Linked DNA regions of Homo sapiens: all the other regions are linked to region 4. Evidence: promoter capture Hi-C in 16 types of primary human blood cells and fetal thymus (Javierre and others, 2016). All regions are on one chromosome and are shown on one strand. The core of a region is centred on a gene start or on the middle of the fragment in contact, and the rest is flanking DNA. Distances in the headings are between cores, read along the strand shown. Region 1 overlaps HSF2BP (heat shock transcription factor 2 binding protein). Region 2 overlaps HSF2BP (heat shock transcription factor 2 binding protein). Region 3 overlaps LOC124905029 (a long non-coding RNA gene). Region 4 holds the start of FRGCA (FOXM1-regulated, gastric cancer associated). Region 5 overlaps HSF2BP (heat shock transcription factor 2 binding protein). Region 6 overlaps HSF2BP (heat shock transcription factor 2 binding protein). Region 7 overlaps HSF2BP (heat shock transcription factor 2 binding protein).

What was found. The method cuts DNA at HindIII sites, captures the fragments that hold promoters and counts their contacts. A CHiCAGO score of 5 or more calls a contact.
Region 1: a fragment that was not itself captured here is called in contact with the fragment with the promoter of FRGCA in region 4 in 9 of 17 cell types (naive B cells, total CD8 T cells, naive CD8 T cells and 6 more); the score reaches 10.8 in naive B cells.
Region 2: a fragment that was not itself captured here is called in contact with the fragment with the promoter of FRGCA in region 4 in 9 of 17 cell types (total B cells, naive B cells, total CD8 T cells and 6 more); the score reaches 9.0 in total B cells.
Region 3: a contact is called between a fragment that was not itself captured here and the fragment with the promoter of FRGCA in region 4, in 1 of 17 cell types (endothelial precursors). The highest score is 6.1, in endothelial precursors.
Region 5: a fragment that was not itself captured here is called in contact with the fragment with the promoter of FRGCA in region 4 in 15 of 17 cell types (naive CD8 T cells, M2 macrophages, total CD4 T cells and 12 more); the score reaches 11.7 in naive CD8 T cells.
Region 6: a fragment that was not itself captured here is called in contact with the fragment with the promoter of FRGCA in region 4 in 17 of 17 cell types (naive CD8 T cells, naive CD4 T cells, M2 macrophages and 14 more); the score reaches 19.9 in naive CD8 T cells.
Region 7: a contact is called between a fragment that was not itself captured here and the fragment with the promoter of FRGCA in region 4, in 6 of 17 cell types (naive CD8 T cells, naive CD4 T cells, total CD8 T cells and 3 more). The highest score is 8.9, in naive CD8 T cells.

Annotation. Positions count from the first base shown.
Region 1 is chr21:43,530,248-43,532,947 of GRCh38, forward strand. The region is part of intron 8 of HSF2BP (heat shock transcription factor 2 binding protein); the gene reads right to left. Among named protein-coding and RNA genes, the nearest start is that of H2BC12L, 34 kb to the right of the region's middle. The HindIII fragment of the contact is 252 bases long and covers 1,285-1,536 here.
Region 2 is chr21:43,559,700-43,562,399 of GRCh38, forward strand. All of the region lies in intron 8 of HSF2BP (heat shock transcription factor 2 binding protein), which reads right to left. Among named protein-coding and RNA genes, the nearest start is that of H2BC12L, 4.1 kb to the right of the region's middle. The HindIII fragment of the contact is 241 bases long and covers 1,169-1,409 here.
Region 3 is chr21:43,437,897-43,440,596 of GRCh38, forward strand. LOC124905029 (a long non-coding RNA gene) reads left to right here. Exons shown (of 3, transcript XR_007067891.1): 3 at 1-955. Among named protein-coding and RNA genes, the nearest start is that of LINC00319, 7.4 kb to the right of the region's middle. The HindIII fragment of the contact is 1,668 bases long and covers 545-2,212 here.
Region 4 is chr21:43,139,799-43,142,498 of GRCh38, forward strand. FRGCA (FOXM1-regulated, gastric cancer associated) reads right to left here and starts at 1,294. Exons shown (of 2, transcript NR_133677.1): 1 at 1,164-1,294; 2 at 725-1,015. The region is part of intron 4 of LOC101928369 (a long non-coding RNA gene); the gene reads left to right. RefSeq lists enhancers at 1,687-2,224, 2,225-2,700. The HindIII fragment of the contact is 22,159 bases long and covers 1-2,700 here.
Region 5 is chr21:43,614,869-43,617,568 of GRCh38, forward strand. The region is part of intron 6 of HSF2BP (heat shock transcription factor 2 binding protein); the gene reads right to left. Among named protein-coding and RNA genes, the nearest start is that of MIR6070, 6.2 kb to the left of the region's middle. The HindIII fragment of the contact is 9,663 bases long and covers 1-2,700 here.
Region 6 is chr21:43,633,897-43,636,596 of GRCh38, forward strand. The region is part of intron 4 of HSF2BP (heat shock transcription factor 2 binding protein); the gene reads right to left. Among named protein-coding and RNA genes, the nearest start is that of HSF2BP, 24 kb to the right of the region's middle. The HindIII fragment of the contact is 7,109 bases long and covers 1-2,700 here.
Region 7 is chr21:43,580,985-43,583,684 of GRCh38, forward strand. All of the region lies in intron 8 of HSF2BP (heat shock transcription factor 2 binding protein), which reads right to left. Among named protein-coding and RNA genes, the nearest start is that of H2BC12L, 17 kb to the left of the region's middle. RefSeq lists an enhancer at 2,686-2,700. The HindIII fragment of the contact is 4,467 bases long and covers 1-2,700 here.

The DNA.
Region 1 (2,700 bases), core at 161-2,660, 390 kb after region 4:
GGTTGGTCTCGAACTCCTAACCTCAAGTGATCCACCCACCTTGGCCTCCCAAAGTGCTGGGATTACAGGCGTGAGCCACCGCGCCTGGCCTAGAATAAAATGTTCTACTGCAATCTACCCCTCAAGGGGTTCCTGGCCTTTCTGAATAACACGTTTGACAGTTTAGAAAACTACAGGATAACCCAGAAACACAGTCACTGCTTGATATAAAAGCTTAGCTCATAAAAGCAGCATCAAAAAACTCAATAGTCTAATAACCATCATCTTCAAATATTACAGTCATACAATTTTAAAGTGTTAAACTAGAAAGATGAGGGCTTTCTCTGTTTGCTAGTGAGGACTAAACTCTGATTTTTTTTATCTTGCCCAAATTCCTATCTAAGGGGTCTGGGGAGTCATGTCCTACAAATCACAAATTCTCATCAGATGGGTTTTATTTAACCCTATATATCATGACTTTCCAACCTGACTCTGGCATAACATTATGAGACAAGAAAGAAAATAAAAATACTTTACCCCAAAATATGTTTCTTTGCCATATTTTGAAATGGCCCTGCAAAGCTGTTCTTTGTGGGGGAAAATCTGCATTTGTAAAGAATCTCTACTAACATAGCTAGATCTTTTTCTTCGAGACCCTCCTAATCCTAAAGAGATTAACTAAGATCTGAATAGGAAACATCTGTCATCTATTGTCTCTAAGGCAGCCACCATAAGACTTCAAAAGAACTTGGATGTCCACAATCTTTACCTTAACCTGAACATTCCCTTTCTATCAATCCCAGGTCTTTATCAATCAGAAAATGTTTAAATTCACCTATAGCCTGGAAGCCCCACGCCCCCCAGCTTTGTCCCACTTTTCTGGACCAAACCAATGTATTTCTTAAATGTTTTTGATTGATGTCTCACACCTCTCTAAAATGTATAAAGCCAAGCCGCACCCAACTACCTTGGGCACATGTTCTCAGGACCTCACTCATATTTGGCTCAGAACAAATCTCTTCAAATATTTTGCAGAGTTTGACTCTTTGTCGACAGTAGCATTCTGTCCACTTATAAGATTGTTTTAAAAAGTATTACTTCTTTTTCACTCCAATTGCAGCAAATCCCTCAGGGACCACATACAGATACAGCACTTATCAGGGCCACTGAGTTTACACAATGTCACTGGGTATATAAAATTCACGTTGTTTATTTTCCATGGGAATGGCCCCAGGACTTATAGAATCTGGTAGCCTTGCATACATTGTAGCAACCACTAAAAAATAGCTAGACAAACCCACTGGAAGCTTCAATCCATCACCAGAGTGGAGCCAACTTTCCTTACCATTCCTCTCTACTGGCAGCCTTTACGATGCCGTAAATTCACTCCTTGACTGGGTACTGCAACTGGAACCAGGCTCAAAATCAGCACCTCTTTCTTAGCACATTTACTTAACAAATAAAAAAATTAAAAAAAAACCTTTTAAGATGTAGACTGAAAGAGCAGACTGAACAGTCTCTCAGTGGGAGCTGCCACAGCACTAAGCCCTAACAAGAAGCTTCTCACCTACAGAATCAGAAGACTGCTGTGGCCAGGGAAGATAAAAGGCAATCTGCTCTAGCCCTCAGGGAGGGTCCAGGAGCCATCTTAAGCCAGCCTGTTAGAGTCCTCCTACTTTGGGGGAAGGGAGGGGAACTTTCTCTAGTAGAGACCTGCCAAAGATAAGGGGCAGCTAAGGCAGACACAGAGGCAAGGCCAAAAGCCATGGGTGAAGACGCTTTGGCAACTCAGCCCTCATCCTAAGCTCAAGGAAAGGTTAGAGGAATTTGAAGCCAGTGGGATGGAAGGTACATACACAACAACAAAACCCAGACCCACCTTAACTCCCCAACAATGAAAACCCAGCGGAAAAAGAGGAGTGGCCATTCCTGAATATAACACTATCTACCCACCTCATTCCCCTCTACAGAGAGGGTACGCATGGCCCAGAGGCCAAAGGTAGCCCATGACCCGTTTCTGTACAGCCTGCAAGCTAAGAATGGTTTTACTTTTTTTTTCTTCTTCTTCTTCTTCTTTCCTCCTCCTCCTCCTCCTCCTCCCCCCCCCTCCTCTCCTCCTCCACCACCTCCTCCTCCCCCCCCCCTCCTCCTCCTCCTTTTGGAGACAGGGTCTTGCTCTGTCTCCCAGGCTGGAGTACTCTGGTACAATCATGGCTCACTGCAGTCTCAATCTCCTGGGCTCAAGCCATCCTCCCACCTCGGCCTCCCAAGAAAGAGGGACCACAGAACATGTGGCCACGCCCAGTTAATTTTTCACATTTTTTTGTAGAGACGGTGTCTCACCACACTGCCCAGGCTGGTATCAAACCCCTGGGCTCAAGCAATCCTTCCACCTCAGTCTCCCAAAGGGCCAGAATTAGAGGCATGAACCATTGCAGCCTGCCAGGTTTTACATTTTTTAAGGGTAATTTTTTAAAAGTAAAAACCAGAAGAATAACATGCAACAGGGACTACACGTGGCTCTCAAAACTCAAAATATTTATTTGGCCCATTACAGAAAAAGTTTTTTGACCTTGCCTACTGCCCTCCACACAATGTCCAACACTGAAATCAAAAATTACAATGAAGAGGCAATGGAGGCCAGGCGCAGTGGCTCACACCTGTAATCCCAGCACTTTGGGAGGCCAAGGCGGGCGGATCACGAGGTCAGGAGTTTGAGAA
Region 2 (2,700 bases), core at 39-2,538, 420 kb after region 4:
GTTGCAGTGAGCCGAGATCACGCCACTACACTCCAGCCTGGGTGACAGAGCAAGACTCCATCTCAAACAACAACAACACAAAAAAAAAAAGAAAAGAAAAGACAATTATAGGCTAACATTCCTAATGAATATAGACTTAGAAATTCTCAGCAAAATACTAGCAAACTAAATCCAACGGCACATCAGAAAAATAACACATCATTATCAAATGGAACTTAACTTATCCCAGGGATTCAAGGATGGTTCAACATATGCAAATCAATAAACATGATACATTACATCAACAGAACAAACGACAAAACCATATGATCATTCAACAGATGCTAAAAAAGCATTTGGTAAAATTCAACATCCTTTTATGATAAAAACCTTAAAAAAACTAAGGATAGAAGGAATATACCTCAACAAAATAAAGGCCACGTGTGACAAATCCACAGCTAACATCATACTAAATGAGAAATGCTGAAATCCTTTCAGCCAAGAACTGCAACAAGACAAGATGCCCACTTTCACCACTCCTATCCAACATAGTACTGGAAGACCTAGCCAGAGCAATCAGACAAGATAAATAAATAAAAGGCAGCAAAATTGGAAAAGAAGAAGTCAAACTGTCCTTCTTTGCTAAAGATATGATCTTCTACCTAGAAAAATCTAGAGTCCACCAAAAAACTGTTAGAACTGATAAATCCAGTGAAGCTGCAGGATACAAAATCAATATACAAAAATCAACAGTGTTTCTATACACCAACAATGAACAAGCTGAGAAAGAAATAAAGAATGAAGTCGCATTTACAACAGCTACCAAAAAATTAAAATACCTAGGAATAAATTTATCCTAGGAGGCGAAAGATCTCTACAAGGAAAATGACAAAACACAGAAGAAAGAAATTAAACAGGACATAAACAAAAAGACATCCCATGTTCAAAGACTGGAAGAATTAATAGCCTCAAAATAATCATACTGCCCAAAGCCATCTACAGATTCAACGCAATCTCTATCAAAATACCAATGTCATTTTTCACAGAAATTGAAAAAAAATCTTAAAATTTGCATGGAACCAAAAGAATCCAAATAGCCAATGCAATTGTGAGCAAAAAAAAAGAAAAAAGAAAAGAAAAAGAAAAAAGCAAGAGGCATCATATTACCTGACTTCAAAACAGATTACAAAGCTTTAGTAACCGAAACAGCATGGTACTGGTATAAAAACAGACACACACACCAATGGAACAGAATCCAGAATCTAGAAATAAATCCACGTATTTACAACAGAGGTGCAAGAATATACCTTGGGGGAAGGACAGTCTCTTTGATAAATGGTGCTGGGAAAATTGGATATCCATATGCAGAAGAATGAAATTCGATCCCTATCTCTCACCAAATATTTAAAAAGCAACTCAAGATGGATTGAAGCTTAAATGTTAGACCCAAAACTAAAAACTACTAGAAGAAAATATAGGGAATACACTTCAGGACATTTGGTACAGGCAAATATTTTATAGCTAAGACCTTGAAAGCACAGACAACAAACAAAAATAGACAAATGAGACTATATTGAACTAAAAACCTTCTGCACAGCAAAAGAAACAACAGAATGAAGAGACAATGTGCTGAATGGGAGAAACTATTTGCAAACTATTCCTCTGACAAGGGGATCTATCTAAAAGGAACTCAAACAACTCAAATAAAAGAACAAATAATCCCATTAAAAAGTGAGCAAAAGATTTGAACAGATATTCCTCAAAATAAGCCATACAAATGGTCAATAAGTATACAAAAAAAAACCACTAATCATCAGGGAAATGCAAACTGAAATCACAATGAGATATCATCTTACCCAGTTAGAATGGCTATCACTAAAAAGACAAAAAACAGATGCTGGCGAGGATGTGGAGAAAAGGGAACTTTTACACATTGTTGATAGGCATGTAAATTAGAATAGCCACTACAGAAAACAGTATGGAGATTTCTCAAGAAACTAGAAATAGAACTACCACGTGATCTAGCAATTCCACTTCTGGATATTTATCCAAAGGAAAAGTAATCAATATATCAAAGGGATACCCCCATGTTTATTGCAGCACTGTTCCTAATAGACAAGAGACAAAATCAACCTACAAATGTCTGTCAACAGGTGAATGGATAAAGAAAATGTGGTATATATACACAGTGGAATACTGTTCAGGCTTAGAAAAGAATGAAATTATGTCATTTGCAGCAACATGGATAGAACTGCAGGTCATTAAGCGAAATAAGCCAGACACAGAAAGACAAATTTTGCATGTTCTCACTCATATGTGGAAACTAAAAAGTGGATCTCATGAAGGTTGAGAGTAGAGTGACTGATAGCAGAGGCTGGGAAGGGTCTGTGGGTTGAAGTGGGGATGAGAGAGGTTGGTCAATACAAACACAGTCAGATAGAAGGTGTAAGTACTAATGTTTGAGAGTAGAGTAGGGTGATGATAGTTAACAACAATGTATACTGTATTTCAAAGTAGCTAGAAGTATGTGAAATGTTCTCAATACATATAAATAATACTCAAGGTGATGGATACTCCAAATACCCTGACTTGATCAGCCTGATCAGTATATATTCTATGTGTGCAATAAAATATCACATATCACCCCATAAATATATAAAATATTATATATAAAAAAGCCTGAGAACAGAATGAAGGGAAGAATAAAGGAAGAGAAGGATG
Region 3 (2,700 bases), core at 129-2,628, 300 kb after region 4:
TGGGGGCAAGCTCCGTGGCTGCGCCACGCCCTGGAGGGCTTTAGAAAGCAGCTGTGTTTGCTTTGCCCCTAGATGTCACTTAGAAACAGTGTGTCCCATAATTGTTTTCTGGGGATATTTTTGGCTTTTTTTTTTTTTTTGAGATGGAGTTTCGCCCTTGTTGCCCAGGCTGGAATGCAGTGGCACGATCTTGGCTCACTGCAACCTCTACCTCCCGAGTTCAAGCGATTCTCCTGCCTCGGCCTCCCAAAGTGCTGGGATTACAGGCGCGCCACCATGCCTGGCAAATTTTTGTATTTTTAGTAGAGACGGGGTTTCCCCATTGTGGCCAGGCTGGTCTCAAACTCCTGACCTCAGGTGATCCACTCGTCTCGGCCTCCTAAAGTGCTGGGAAACAGGCATGAGCAACTGCTCCCGGCCATGTCCCATAATTGAATCTGTGCTACCAAATTTATATTTTATAAATATATATTTTTAAAAATTCCAGTTTGTAGCAAAGATGGTACTGTGGTTTGAAAGTGTTCCCCAAAGTTCATGTGTCGGAAGCTTGATCCCCAACATGGCCGTGTTGGGAGATGCGGTCTCATGGGAGGTGTTTGGACCGCAGGGGCACGACCCTCACAAGTGGGTTAATATTTTATTACAGCAAATATATACTAAGTTTGTTGGCCTTTGTTGGGCCTGTTTATTACATCTTGGATTTTCAGTGACTTTTTTTCTTCTACCTGAGTTTAAAACAGTGCACATGAAAGGATTTGGAATTTTAAAACTTTTTTCTTGATGATAAAATTGAATATATGATTATTATAAAAAATATATATGAAAATAATAATACTAACATATAAGAAATAATTCATAATTCTACCACTCAGATATCATCACTCAGTATTTTGGTGCATTTTTTTCTAGTTGAATAGATGTAAATTTTTAAAAAATAAATTTGGATTGTACCCCATATGAACACTCTTATAGCCTTTCTATTTGTAGAAAGAGAATTCCATGTATCATATATAATTTAAATACATTATTCTTAATATCTAATATCTCATGTTTAACATGTAACATTCCCATTTATTTAACATTTCTATTTGTAGACATTATTGTTTCTACACGTTACTATAAACAGTGTTATTGTGAGCATCTTTCCCAAAACTCTTAATTCCTATGTGAAATTTTTCCCTAGGATAAAGGCTTAAAAATGGAATTACCAAGTGAAAGAGGATAAAGTGTCTTAAAGCCTTTGATATATGTTGCCAAACTGCTGGGGCACCCCTGACCTTAAACTGTGCCAACATTTAAGAATTTTCATTTTAAAAATATTTTGCTAAGTTCAGAAGTGGAAAATAATATCTGTATTAGTTTCCTAGGGCAGCCATAACAAAGTATAAAAAACAAGCAGTTCTAAACAACAGAAATGTGTCCTCCCACAGTTCTGGAGCCAGATGTCTGAAATCTGTGTGGGCAAGGCCATGTTCCCTCTTCAGCCTCCTGGCGAGATTCCTTTCATGCCTCTTCCAGCTTCTGGAGGTTCTCAGGGACACCTGTCAGTCGTTGGCTTACAGATCCCTCATCCAGTCTCCGCCACCATCTTCAGATGGGCCGGCTTTTCCTGGGGCCTCCCTCTCTTCTTATAAGGACACCAGGCATTCTGTATTTAGGACCCAGCCTACTCCAGTATGGTCTCACTCTAACTAGTTAATCTGCAACCACCCTATTTCCAAATAAGGCCATGTTCTTAGGTACAGGAGGTGAGGACTTAACATACCTTTCAGTAGGGGGACACAGTTCAATCCGTAATAGCATGCATTTATTGTAATGGGCACTTCTTGGATTTCCTTATGGAAAGTGATTCTTCTCTTCATGTTCATTGGCCATTTGTGTTTGAGTGTCAGTTCTTATTTTCTGCTCCATTTTCTATTAGTGGGTCTCAGTCAAGGCTCCCTTTATTGTGAGAGGCAGAAATGCAACTGAAACTGGTTCAAGCTAAAAGGAGAGTTGGTGGTTAACATAACTAAAGGGCCCAGGATACTACAGGCTTCAGGTTGAGCTCGACCCAGGCTCACACAATGTTTATCTGTTCTATTCCCTTTTTTCAGCAGCATCCCTCAGTTCTACTTCCCTGCCTTGGCTTTGTTCTCAGGCAGGCTCATTCCAGTTTGTAGCAAAGATGGTGCTATGCTTTGAAAGTGCCCCCCAAAGTTCATGTGTCAGAAGCTTGATCCCCATCATGGCAATGGTGGGAGGTGGGGCCTAATGGGAGGTGCTTGGGTCATAGGGGTACGACCCTCACAAGTGGATTAATACCATTATCTCAAGAGTGCGTTCCTTATAAAAGGACAAGTTTGGCCCCATCTTGCGCGCTCTCTCTCTCTCTCTCCCCCTCTCTTTGTGTGTGTGTGTGTGTGTGTGTGTGTGTGTGTGTGTGTGTGTGTGCTCTCACTTTCTCACTCTTGCCCTTCTGCCTTCCACCTTGGGATGCCGCAGCAAGAAGGCCCTAACTAGATGCCAGTGCCATGCTCTTGGACTTCCCAGCCTCCCCAGGACATCTCTGTTCATTATAGATTACCCAGACTTGATATTTTGTTATAGCTGCACAAAGCAGACTAAGACAGGTAGCTAACATCCTACTAGTTCACCGTCTACAGAGAAAGCATATCTTTTCCCTGATAGTCCCAGCCACGGTCCCAGGCAAGCCCTTCA
Region 4 (2,700 bases), core at 44-2,543:
ACGCCACCGCACTCCAGCCTGGGCAATAAGTGTGAAACTCTGTCTCAAAAAAAAAAAAGAGGCATATTTCTGCTCTCAAAACATCACCAGAACAGGTGTGGTGGCTCACACCTGTAATCCCAGCACTTCGGGAGGCTGAGGTGGCAGATCTCTTGAGGCAAGGAGTTCAAAACCAGCCTGGGCGACATGATGAAACCCCATCTCTACAAAAAATGCCCCCCAAATTAGCCAGGAAAGGTGGTGTGTGCCTGTGGTCCCAGCTACTTAGGAGGCTGAGGTGGGAGGATTGCTTGAGCCTCAGAGGCTAAGGTTGCGGTGAGCTGTGATCACACCACCACACTCCAGCCTGGGCGACGGAACAAAACCCTATTTCCAAAAAAACCCCACAAAAAAACAAAAAACACCACCAAATTTCTAAAGACCCAAACACTTCTAATATTAAACATTGAAATAAATGTAAACTATCCCTACATGTAGAGGTAGCTACACCTACATAAGGAAGATTAATACAAACAAGTGAGATCATGATCTACCCAATATTTGGGATGTCTGTGAGTGACGGCGGTGGTAGTGGTGGTGGTGAAATCACGGAATCAATGTCTGCAAAGCACACGCTCTTGGGAGCACCTCCTCCCACCGCACAGCTGAAAGACAAGCGACCGTGAGTATGGCGGCTCCTTGAGCACCCTCACACGCGGCGTTTGTTGTCATGCGTTTGTGTGATTACCGTAGGCTTTATAATTTTTATTTGATAATTTATATTCATGTATTCATTCATTTTCCAACTTGCTTTCTCCAGTTCAGAGTGGCAGGTGACCAGGGCCCATCCTGGAGGCTCAGTGCCAAGGTGGGCACCCGCCCTGGATAGGACAGGCCTCCATGGGACACCCACACTCACTCGGACTAGGCCCATGTAGACATGCCGTGAGGCTGAGGTGTATACTTGGGATGTGGGAGGAAACTGGAGGACCTGGAGAAAACCCGCGCGGACCTGGGGAGACCTCCTCAATGCTCCCTAGAATGAAACGATGGGATTTGAGGACCTGCTGTATTTATTTGTCCCAATCCAGCGGCCCTGGCCTTCAGTGCACAGTAGTCCCTGCTGCTGGGCACACATCCCCTCATGCTCAGTCCATTGACCAGGACTGGGCACATGGCCTCACCTAGCTGCGGGCAGTGGCTTCTGCCCTGGGGCAGGCAGCTGCTCCAGGTCTGGAGATGAGCCCCACCTCCAGGTGCAGCTGCTCCAGGTGTGGAAACGGGGCTCTACCTCGTGGGGAGCGTCCGCTGCGGGCCACAACCTTGCTGGGAGGCTGCGGGAGATGGGGGGTAAGAGGGGTGATGTTGAGGCTTTCCCTCCTCGGCAGTGACCGGCGCAGCCCTCCCCAGTGTAGCTCCCCCCTCCCCACCCCTCCCTCCATCTGGAACACAGCACGGGGGCTGCCCTCCAGCCCTCAGTGTGCAGGGCTTGCACACCTTGGCTTGCAGGGCATTTGGGGGATCCCAGTGGGGCAACTGCCAGCTGGAGAGATGCTGGTGCCCAGCCGTGCTGCTCCTGGGGGCAGGCTGGGTAGGGGCTGAGGGGCCGGAGTGAGCGGTCCACAGTCATCCAGGAACAACAGGGCTCTCACCTGGCAGGGCTCCCAGGCACGTTGATGGAGGGAGGGTTTCCTCAGTCCTCTCCCCCAGCCCTTACTGGGCAGTACCCCCACCCACCATACTGTCTCTTGCCTGGGTCTCAGGTGGTTGGCGCTGTCTGGCCCCTGCCTCTCCCTCTGTCCCTTCAGCTGAAGCGGGCTCCACGCCATCCCAGGACTTCCCGCGCGGTCTGAAGCACAGCCACATCCGGTCTGACCGTCCCTCACCCCTCCCTCACCCCTCCCTCGCCCCCCCTCGCCCCTCCCTCGCCCCTCCCTCGCCCCCCCTCGCCACCCCAGGAGGAAATAGAGGCTGAGTGTCCGTGCCCTGCAGCCGAGCAGCCACCCTTGCCTTTGGCCCCACCTTCGCCTGCCTGGCGGCCGTCCTGTCACCTGTCATTCAGCCCTTGCTGTCTGCTGGGCACGTGCCCTGCAGGTGGGGTGCACGGCAGGCCCATGAGTGCCCACCATGCCTCGCCATTCAGGAAGCCACCCAGGTGCTCCGGGCGGTGTCAGGGCAGGGTGCGTCTGTGCGGCGTTTGCATGTGTCCACCGTCCTGACCGGGGGCAGGGCCACGTCCCACACATCTTTCTGCCTAACTTATGATGTGGCAAAGACACATCCCGATACCTCTCCCGGGTGGGCCTGTGAGCTGGGCTCTGTGACGCCAAGGCCCAGGACCTGCTCAGCCCTGGGAAGATGGAACTGGAGGGGACCTTGAGATGGCTGGCCCAGCCCCTTGTCTTATAGACAGGGAGACAGCAGAAAGGGAGATGGAGTCACCGGCCAGGACCCCAGCTATGAGTGGGAGCTGGACCAGGAGTTGAGTGTCCTGAGCCACCTCCTCCCTGTGCTGGGTCCACTCTCAGAAACACTCCAGGTCTGGAGGCAGACCTGGAGGCAGGGCAGGGCAGGGCAGGGAGGGCAGAATGGCTATGATGTGGTGAGGCTGTGTCCCCACCCAAATCTCACCTCGAATTGTAATCCCCAGGTGTTGAAGGAGGGAGGCGATTGGATCATGAGGCGGTTTCCTCCATGCTGTTCTCATGATAGCTAGTGAGT
Region 5 (2,700 bases), core at 55-2,554, 480 kb after region 4:
ACTGAAATTATATGTAGTCAAAAAAGAGTATGAAAATGGATTTTGAAGAAAACTTATTTTCTCAATTTTATGTCCCATTGTGGAACAGCAAGTATCCCATTTCTTCATGCCTGAGGCCCTGCGAATCGGCCTGAAGACCAGACCGAGTAATTACACTGCTCCCAATGGGCAGTGCTGCAGCCATTACTGGCTCCATCAACATTTCCAAATACCTCGAAGTATCCAATGATCCAAGTGCATTTATGTATGTGTTTGTTAAGAGTTTTCTTTAGTTGGGTCTGACAGTAAAGCATGATTCAAACTGACTAAGATTTCTAAGCCAAATGACGAGACCAAGGTGGAAAAGAGATGGGGCAGCAGCACTGCCTTGCTCCTGATTTTAATGGAAACGCTTCTAAAAATTCACAGTTAAGTGTGATGTCTGATCTGTTTCTGGTAGATACCCTTTATCAGTTTAAAGAAGTCTTCTTCTATTTTTGGCTTGCTAAGAATTATCAAAAATGGAAGCTGAATTTTATCACTTATTTCTTCTGCCTTTGACTGGATGTAATCTGATGGCAGAATATAAAATTTCATGTTACCCGGCCAGCTTCATGAACTCAGATCTTTGACATTACTATTTACTTTTGTTCACCTGGTCTCAGATGGACCACAAGAGGGATAGTAAAGTCTACTAAACCTAACAGATGTTTCCCCCTTTCTACTTGTCTTTGCAGCATTTTAACTATATCATTGGTGCAGTGTCTTCAAGTACACGCTTTGATGACAGCCATAACTTTATTGACAGAACCTTTCAATGACATAAACTTACCTTCTTTGGTCAATGAATTTTAACCTGATAGGTACATTTTCCAGAATATGACACATTCTAGTTTTACTAAGGAAATATTTTAGGAGAAAAACAAAGCAAGTAAGCATTTGGCATCAGAAACACATAAAAGATAGCTTTTAGGTAGCTTTTCAGGGGAAAGCATTATTCATGTAAATAACTTCAGATAATATACTGAAACCCAGCAGAAACCCAGATGTTGGAGAGCAGCAACAGCAAACTGTCCCTGCCAAACCTGACCAAACTGTAGACCCATGATCAAGATAAATGTTAAGACTTTATATTTTGAGGAGGTTTGTTACACAGCAATAGAAAATAGAAACATTACTAATACATCGCTGAAGAAAAAAAAAAAATATATATATATATATATCATAGCAAGCAACATAGAACTATTTGGTAGCCTGACTCCAGAGATGGCTACCAGGTGGGCCTGGCCTCATGTTCAGACCCTTGAGTAGTCACCTACACTGCGACTCACTTGTAACAAGTAGAACGCAGCAGAATGCACACCATGAGCCTTCCAAGGATGGACAGGAAGAAGCCTTAAGATTTCCACTTTGGTCTCCTGCCACTTGCTCTAGGATCCCTGAGTCACTATGAAAGAGTCCAGCTACCCTAAGGCTGCCATGATGAAGAGACCACACAGAAATAGCACAGTGAAGGCCAGATGTGGTGGCTCACGCCAGTAATCCCAGCACTTTGGAAGGCCAAGGTGGGTGAATCACCTGAGGTCAGGAGTTTGAGATGAGCCTGGCCAACATGGCAAAACCCTGTCTCTACTAAAAATACGAAATTAGCCAGGCGTCGTGGCTTACACCCGTAATCCTAGTTACTTGGGAGGCTAAGGCAGGAGAATCATTTGAACCCAGGAGGTGGATGCTGCAGTAAGCCGAGATTGCACTACTGCACTCCAGCCTAGGAGACAGAGCGAAACTCTGTCTTTAAAAAAAAGAAAAAACACGGTGGCTCACGCCTGTAATCCCAGCACTTTGGGAGGCCGAGGTGGGCGGATCACGCGGTCTGGAGATCAAGATCATCCTGGCTAACATGATGAAACCGTCTCTACTAAAAATACAAAAAATTAGCCGGGCGCGGTGGCAGGTGCCTGTAGTCCCAGCTACTCCAGATGCTGAGGCAGGAGAATGGTGTGAACCTGGGAGGCAGAGTTTGCAGTGAGCTGAGATCACACCATTGCACTCCAGCCTGGGTGATAGAGCAAGACTCCATCTCAAAAAAAAAAGAAAAAAGGAAAAAAAGGATAAGAAATAGCACAGTGAAGAAGCCTTGAGACTCTATGAGGAAAGAAGAGAGAGAAAGACACCCCACTAGCCCCCAGCTGTTCCATCCCTCAACGATTTGAGTCATCCCAGCTAAGGCCCCAGATGTTGGAGAGCAGAAGCAGCAAACTGTCCCTGCCAAGCCTGACCAAACTGTAGACCCACGAGCAAGATAAATGTTAAGACTTTATATTTTGAGGAGGTTTGTTACACAGCAATAGAAAATAGAAACATTACTAATACATCGCTGAAGAAAAAAAATATATATATATGTATCTCATAGCAAGCAACAATGCCCAACACAACAAATGTACTGGTAAATGAAGTCTGTATCATATATCTAGTATTTTAACTGCAAATGCCAATGCTGCATTTCATTAAATATCACTAAAACATGAACTACAAAGTAAAATAAATGTGAATAAATTCCTACACAGCTTCAGTATTTGTCAATCTGTTGGAATTTCTTTGTTTTACATGGTAATTTGTACTTTGCTTACTGATATTTAATCTATCTAGAATGCCTGTGAGTCAATTCAAGGCCTACAGAATTGACTTTGTTACCATCTACCAAAACTAAAAAACTGCCAG
Region 6 (2,700 bases), core at 99-2,598, 490 kb after region 4:
GGATTTGTAAAAAAACAAGTACTTTAGAAAAACTCATCCTGTATAAACGTATCCTTAACTCCTCATGAGAATATTGCCAAAGGTGCCAGTAAATATAAAATACAATCTGTGAAGCTAAACAGGGAAAGAAAACCTAAAACCTAAGACCAGGTAGGAAAGATGGGAGGAGGGGCAAAAAGAAGTGTGAAGGCTGGGAGTCCTATTCATGCCCTGGTGCAGCAAGCCAGTGCCAGTCTAAGAAGAAGATGGAGGCTAGGAAGAGTTTCCTACTCTCCCACCAGCAGTGTCTGAGGTGACCTGTAGCTGGGCAAGTCTCCACCATGGCACTCTTCACAAGGGAAACACAGGGAATGGCCGTCCTGATGGCCCTCCTGACAACACAAGCACACTTCGAGGATTCACCTTGAGTGTACTGCTAGAGTGATGGGGGGCTTCCTGTCCTCTCCAACCACCAGCACCAGGTACCTGAAATTCCCTTAAAAGGTGATAGCATTTCCTGATTTAATAAGACAAAAACTGAAAAATATAAAACCCCAGTTAAATTCATTTATACCAAATGTAATTAGTTACATAAACCACAAAATTAAAGTATATTAAATGCTGTAGATTTTCTTTTAGAGAGATAAATACAAGACAAAGTAGAGGGGGCTTTTCACCCCCTGGAGGAAAAAGGGAGCTTTGGAGCCACAAATCAAAACTGTTGACCTCATAACTTGGATTAGGGTGGCCCACTCATAGTTACCTGGAGACAATGCGTTTGGCACACAGAGATTCATACACATTCATACGTATATGCACACATGTATTTAAGAAAAAAATGGCCACTGAGCCTCTGGCACATGCTAATACTGCATCATGTGATCTGTCAGCTCCGGGTTTTTAATGTCTTCATTATAGCAACAATCTGGACTCCTAGATTCATCCTTTCAGTGTACGTAGCTGAACACAAGTCATGGTGACACATGAAGAAAACTATGTCACAGCACTTCCTTTTGGAATTCTAGCTTTTCTCACAACTTAAGCTGTCTGCATCTCAATTAGTCAGGATATGGTGGTTCTTCTGCACGACCACAAAAAGACTACTGAGAAGAACCAGGAAGGACTTTGCTCACTACAGTCACATTTGGTAGTTGCAGGAGGATATTCCCCAACGCAGGGTTCCACACATAGTATAATAATATCAAAAAAAAAACAAACAAACCTCAAAGAAAATCATAGCATTCCCAGTAACATCAAAAATAAGAATAATTTTTTAAGGTGCAAGACCTATACAATGAAAACTACAAAGCATTACTGAGAGAAAGTAGAGCTAAATAAAGAGATACACCATGTTCAAAAATTGGCAGGATGTCAATTCTTCCCAAACTGATCTACAGATTCAACACAATCCCTATCAAAATCTCAGCAGACTTCTGTACAAAGTGATAATCTGATTCTAAAATTTCTATGGAAATTCAAGACAGAATATCTAAAAAATTGTCTGAAAAAGAAGAACAATGTTAGAAGACTAACAGTGCCTGATTTAGAGGAAAAAACTAACTATAAACCTACCGAAATAGAACCATTGTGGTATTGCTATAAGGATGGACATATAGATCAGTGAAACACTGACATGTCAACTGATTTTAACAAAGGTGCCAATGCAATTCAATGGAAAAAGGATAGTCTTTTCAACAACTGATGCTAAAACAACCGAATATTCATATGCAAAAAAAAAATAATTCAAAATGAATCATAGGGCCGGGTGCGGTGGCTCACACCTACAATCCTAGCATTCTGGGAGGCTGAGGTGGGTGGATTGCTTGAGGTCAGGAGTTCAAGACTAGCCTGACCAACATGGTAAAACCCCGTCTCTACTAAAAATACAAAAGTTAGTTGAGCATGGTGGCACGGGCCTGTAATCCCACCTATAATCCCACCTACTCGGGAGGCTGAGGCAGGAGAATCGCTTGAACCCAGGAGGGGGCGACTGCAGTGAGCCGAGATCGTGCCACTGCACTCCAGCCTGGGTGACAGAGCGAGACTCCATCTCAAAAAAAAAAAAAAAAAAACAGAATCATAGGCCAGGCACAGTGGCTAATTGTACCTTGGGAGGCTGAGACGGGAGGATCGAGACCATCCTGGGCACCATAGTGAGACCCCATCTCTACAAAAAAAAAAAAAAATTTTTTTTAAATAGCCAGGCATGGTGAGGCTGAAGTAGGATCACTTGAGCCTGGAAGGTCGAAGCTGAAGTGAGCCATGATCACACCACTACACTCCAGCCTAGGTGACAGAGCAAGACACCATCTCAAGAAAGAAAAAAAAGAAAGAAAAGAAAAGAAAAGAAAAGAAAAGAAAAGAAAAGAAAAGAAAAGAAAAGAAAAGAAAAGAAAAAACGAAGGGGAAAAAAAGAGAATCATAAACATAAATGTAAAATTTCTCAAAAAAATCGTTATGACCATAGGTTAGGCAAATATTTCTTAGATATCACAAAATCATGACCTATTAAAAAATAATAATAAAGTAAGTTTCATCAAAACTTAAAAGTTCTACTCTTCAAAAGATACCTTATAAAGAAAGTAAAAAGACACGCCACAGGCTAAGAGAAAGTACTTCTAATCACATATCTAAAAAAGGACTTGTGTCCAGATTAAAGAATTCTTACACATCAATAAGACAACCCAATTAAAAATGGGCAAAAGATTTGAAGAGATATTT
Region 7 (2,700 bases), core at 180-2,679, 440 kb after region 4:
GCCATATCAGAAGGCAACTGGTGCCATGGAAAAGATGTGGAATCAAAGTTGGGGGAGTGGGCACACTGCCCTCAAGGGAAGGAAGATGATGCTTAAGTTAGCTTAAGAAAGGTAAAAGGCAGCCGGACGCAGTGGTTCACGCCTGTAATCCCAGCACTTTGGGAAGACGAGGCGGGCGGATCACGAGGTCAGGAGATCGAGACCATCCTGGCTAACACGGTGAAACCCTGTCTCTACTAAAAATACGAAAAATTAGCCGGGCGTGGTGGCAGGTGCCTGTAGTCCCAGCTACTTGGGAGGCTGAGGCAGAAGAATGGCGTGAACCTGGGAGGCAGGGCTTGCAGTGAGCCAAGATCACGCCTCTGAACTCCAGCCTGGGTGGCAGAGTGAGACTCTGTCTCAAAAAAAAAAAAAGAAAGAAAAGAAAGAAGGATAAAAGGAGTCACTTATGAAAGATGCTGGGATAACTCAAAATCTGAGGAAAAGCTATACAGCCCACCTGGACAGGGATAAAGCTGACTGCAAGCCATAGGGCTCCTCTGCATCTCAGGTCAGCATTTATGTCTTGGCTTCAGCAACTGACAACACAGATAAATTTTCTCCAGGTGGCCAGGAACACGGCCACAGGCAGCTCTAGAGTCACATCCAATAGTTTCACGGCCCAAGAAAGGCAAAAAAAACACTGTTCTTCAGCAGCTGAAGCCAGAAAACTCCTGGAGAAAGACTATGGCCCAGCTCAGAGCACACACCCACCACTAAAATCACTGCTGTGGCCACAGCCATATAGCTGGCACTGCCAAGTCTCACCTTAGCCAGTGGTCAGAAGGGTCTGTGCTGCGGGAGATGAGGGCCTGCTGAGGGAGATGAGGGCCTGCTGAGGGGCCCTGCTGTGGGGGATGAGGGCCTGCTGTGGGGAATGAGGCCCTGCTGTGGGAGATGAGGGCCTGCCGTGGGGGATGAGGGTCTGCTGTGGGAGATGAGGGCCTGCTGTGGGGGATGAGGGCCTGCTGTGGGAGATGAGTGCCTGCTGTGGGGGATGAGGGCCTGCTGAGGGGCCCTGTTGTGGGGGATGAGGGCCTGCTGTGGGAGATGAGGGCCTGCTGTGGGAGATGAGGGCCTGCTGTGGGGAATGAGGCCCTGCTGTGGGGGATGAGGGCCTGCTGTGGGGAATGAGGCCCTGCTGTGGGGGATGAGGGCCTGCTGTGGGAGATGAGGGCCTGCTGTGGGGGATGAGGGCCTGCTGTGGGGGATGAGGGCCTGCTGAGGGAGATGAGTGCCTGCTGAGGGGGATGAAGGCCTGCTGAGGGGGATGAAGACCTGCTGTGGGAGATAAGGGCCTGTTGCGGGAGATGAGGGCCGGCTGAGGGAGATGAAGACCTGCTGTGGGGGATGAGGGCCTGGTGAGGGGGATGAGGGCCTGCTGCAGGAGATGAGGGCCTGTTGCGGGAGATGAGTACCTGTTGAGGGAGATGAGGGCCGGCTGAGGGAGATGAAGGGCCTGCTGAGGGAGATGAAGGGCCTGCTGAGGGAGATGAAGGGCCTGCTGAGGGAGATGAGGACCTGCTGAGGGAGATGAGGACCTGCTGAGGGAGATGAAGGCCTGCTGAAGGAGATGAAGGCCTGCTGAGGGAGATGAAGGGCCTGCTGAGGGAGATGAAGGGCCTGCTGAGGGAGATGAGGACCTGCTGAGGGAGATGAGGACCTGCTGAGGGAGATGAGGACCTGCTGAGGGAGATGAAGGCCTGCTGAAGGAGATGAAGGCCTGCTGAGGGAGATGAAGGGCCTGCTGAGGGAGATGAAGATCTGCTGTGGGGGATGAGGGCCTGGTGAGGGGGATGAGGGCCTGCTGCGGGAGATGAGTACCTGTTGAGGGAGATGAGGGCCAGCTGAGGGAGATGAAGGGCCTGCTGAGGGAGATGAAGGGCCTGCTGAGGGAGATGAGGACCTGCTGAGGGAGATGAAGGCCTGCTGAGGGAGATGAAGGCCTGCTGAGGGAGATGAGGACCTGCTGAGAGAGATGAAGGGCCTGAGGGAGATGAAGGGCCTGCTGAGGGAGATGAGGACCTGCTGAGGGAGATGAGGACCTGCTGAGGGAGATGAAGGCCTGCTGAAGGAGATGAAGGCCTGCTGAGGGAGATGAAGGGCCTGCTGAGGGAGATGAAGGGCCTGCTGAGGGAGATGAGGACCTGCTGAGGGAGATGAGGACCTGCTGAGGGAGATGAGGACCTGCTGAGGGAGATGAAGGCCTGCTGAAGGAGATGAAGGCCTGCTGAGGGAGATGAAGGGCCTGCTGAGGGAGATGAAGACCTGCTGTGGGGGATGAGGGCCTGGTGAGGGGGATGAGGGCCTGCTGCGGGAGATGAGTACCTGTTGAGGGAGATGAGGGCCAGCTGAGGGAGATGAAGGGCCTGCTGAGGGAGATGAAGGGCCTGCTGAGGGAGATGAGGACCTGCTGAGGGAGATGAAGGCCTGCTGAGGGAGATGAAGGCCTGCTGAGGGAGATGAGGACCTGCTGAGAGAGATGAAGGGCCTGAGGGAGATGAAGGGCCTGCTGAGGGAGATGAGGACCTGCTGAGGGAGATGAAGACCTGCTGAGGGAGATGAGGACCTCCTGAGGGAGATGAAGGGACTGCTGAGGGAGATGAAGACCTGCTGAGGGAGATGAAGGACCTGCTGAGGGAGATGAGGACCTGCTGAGAG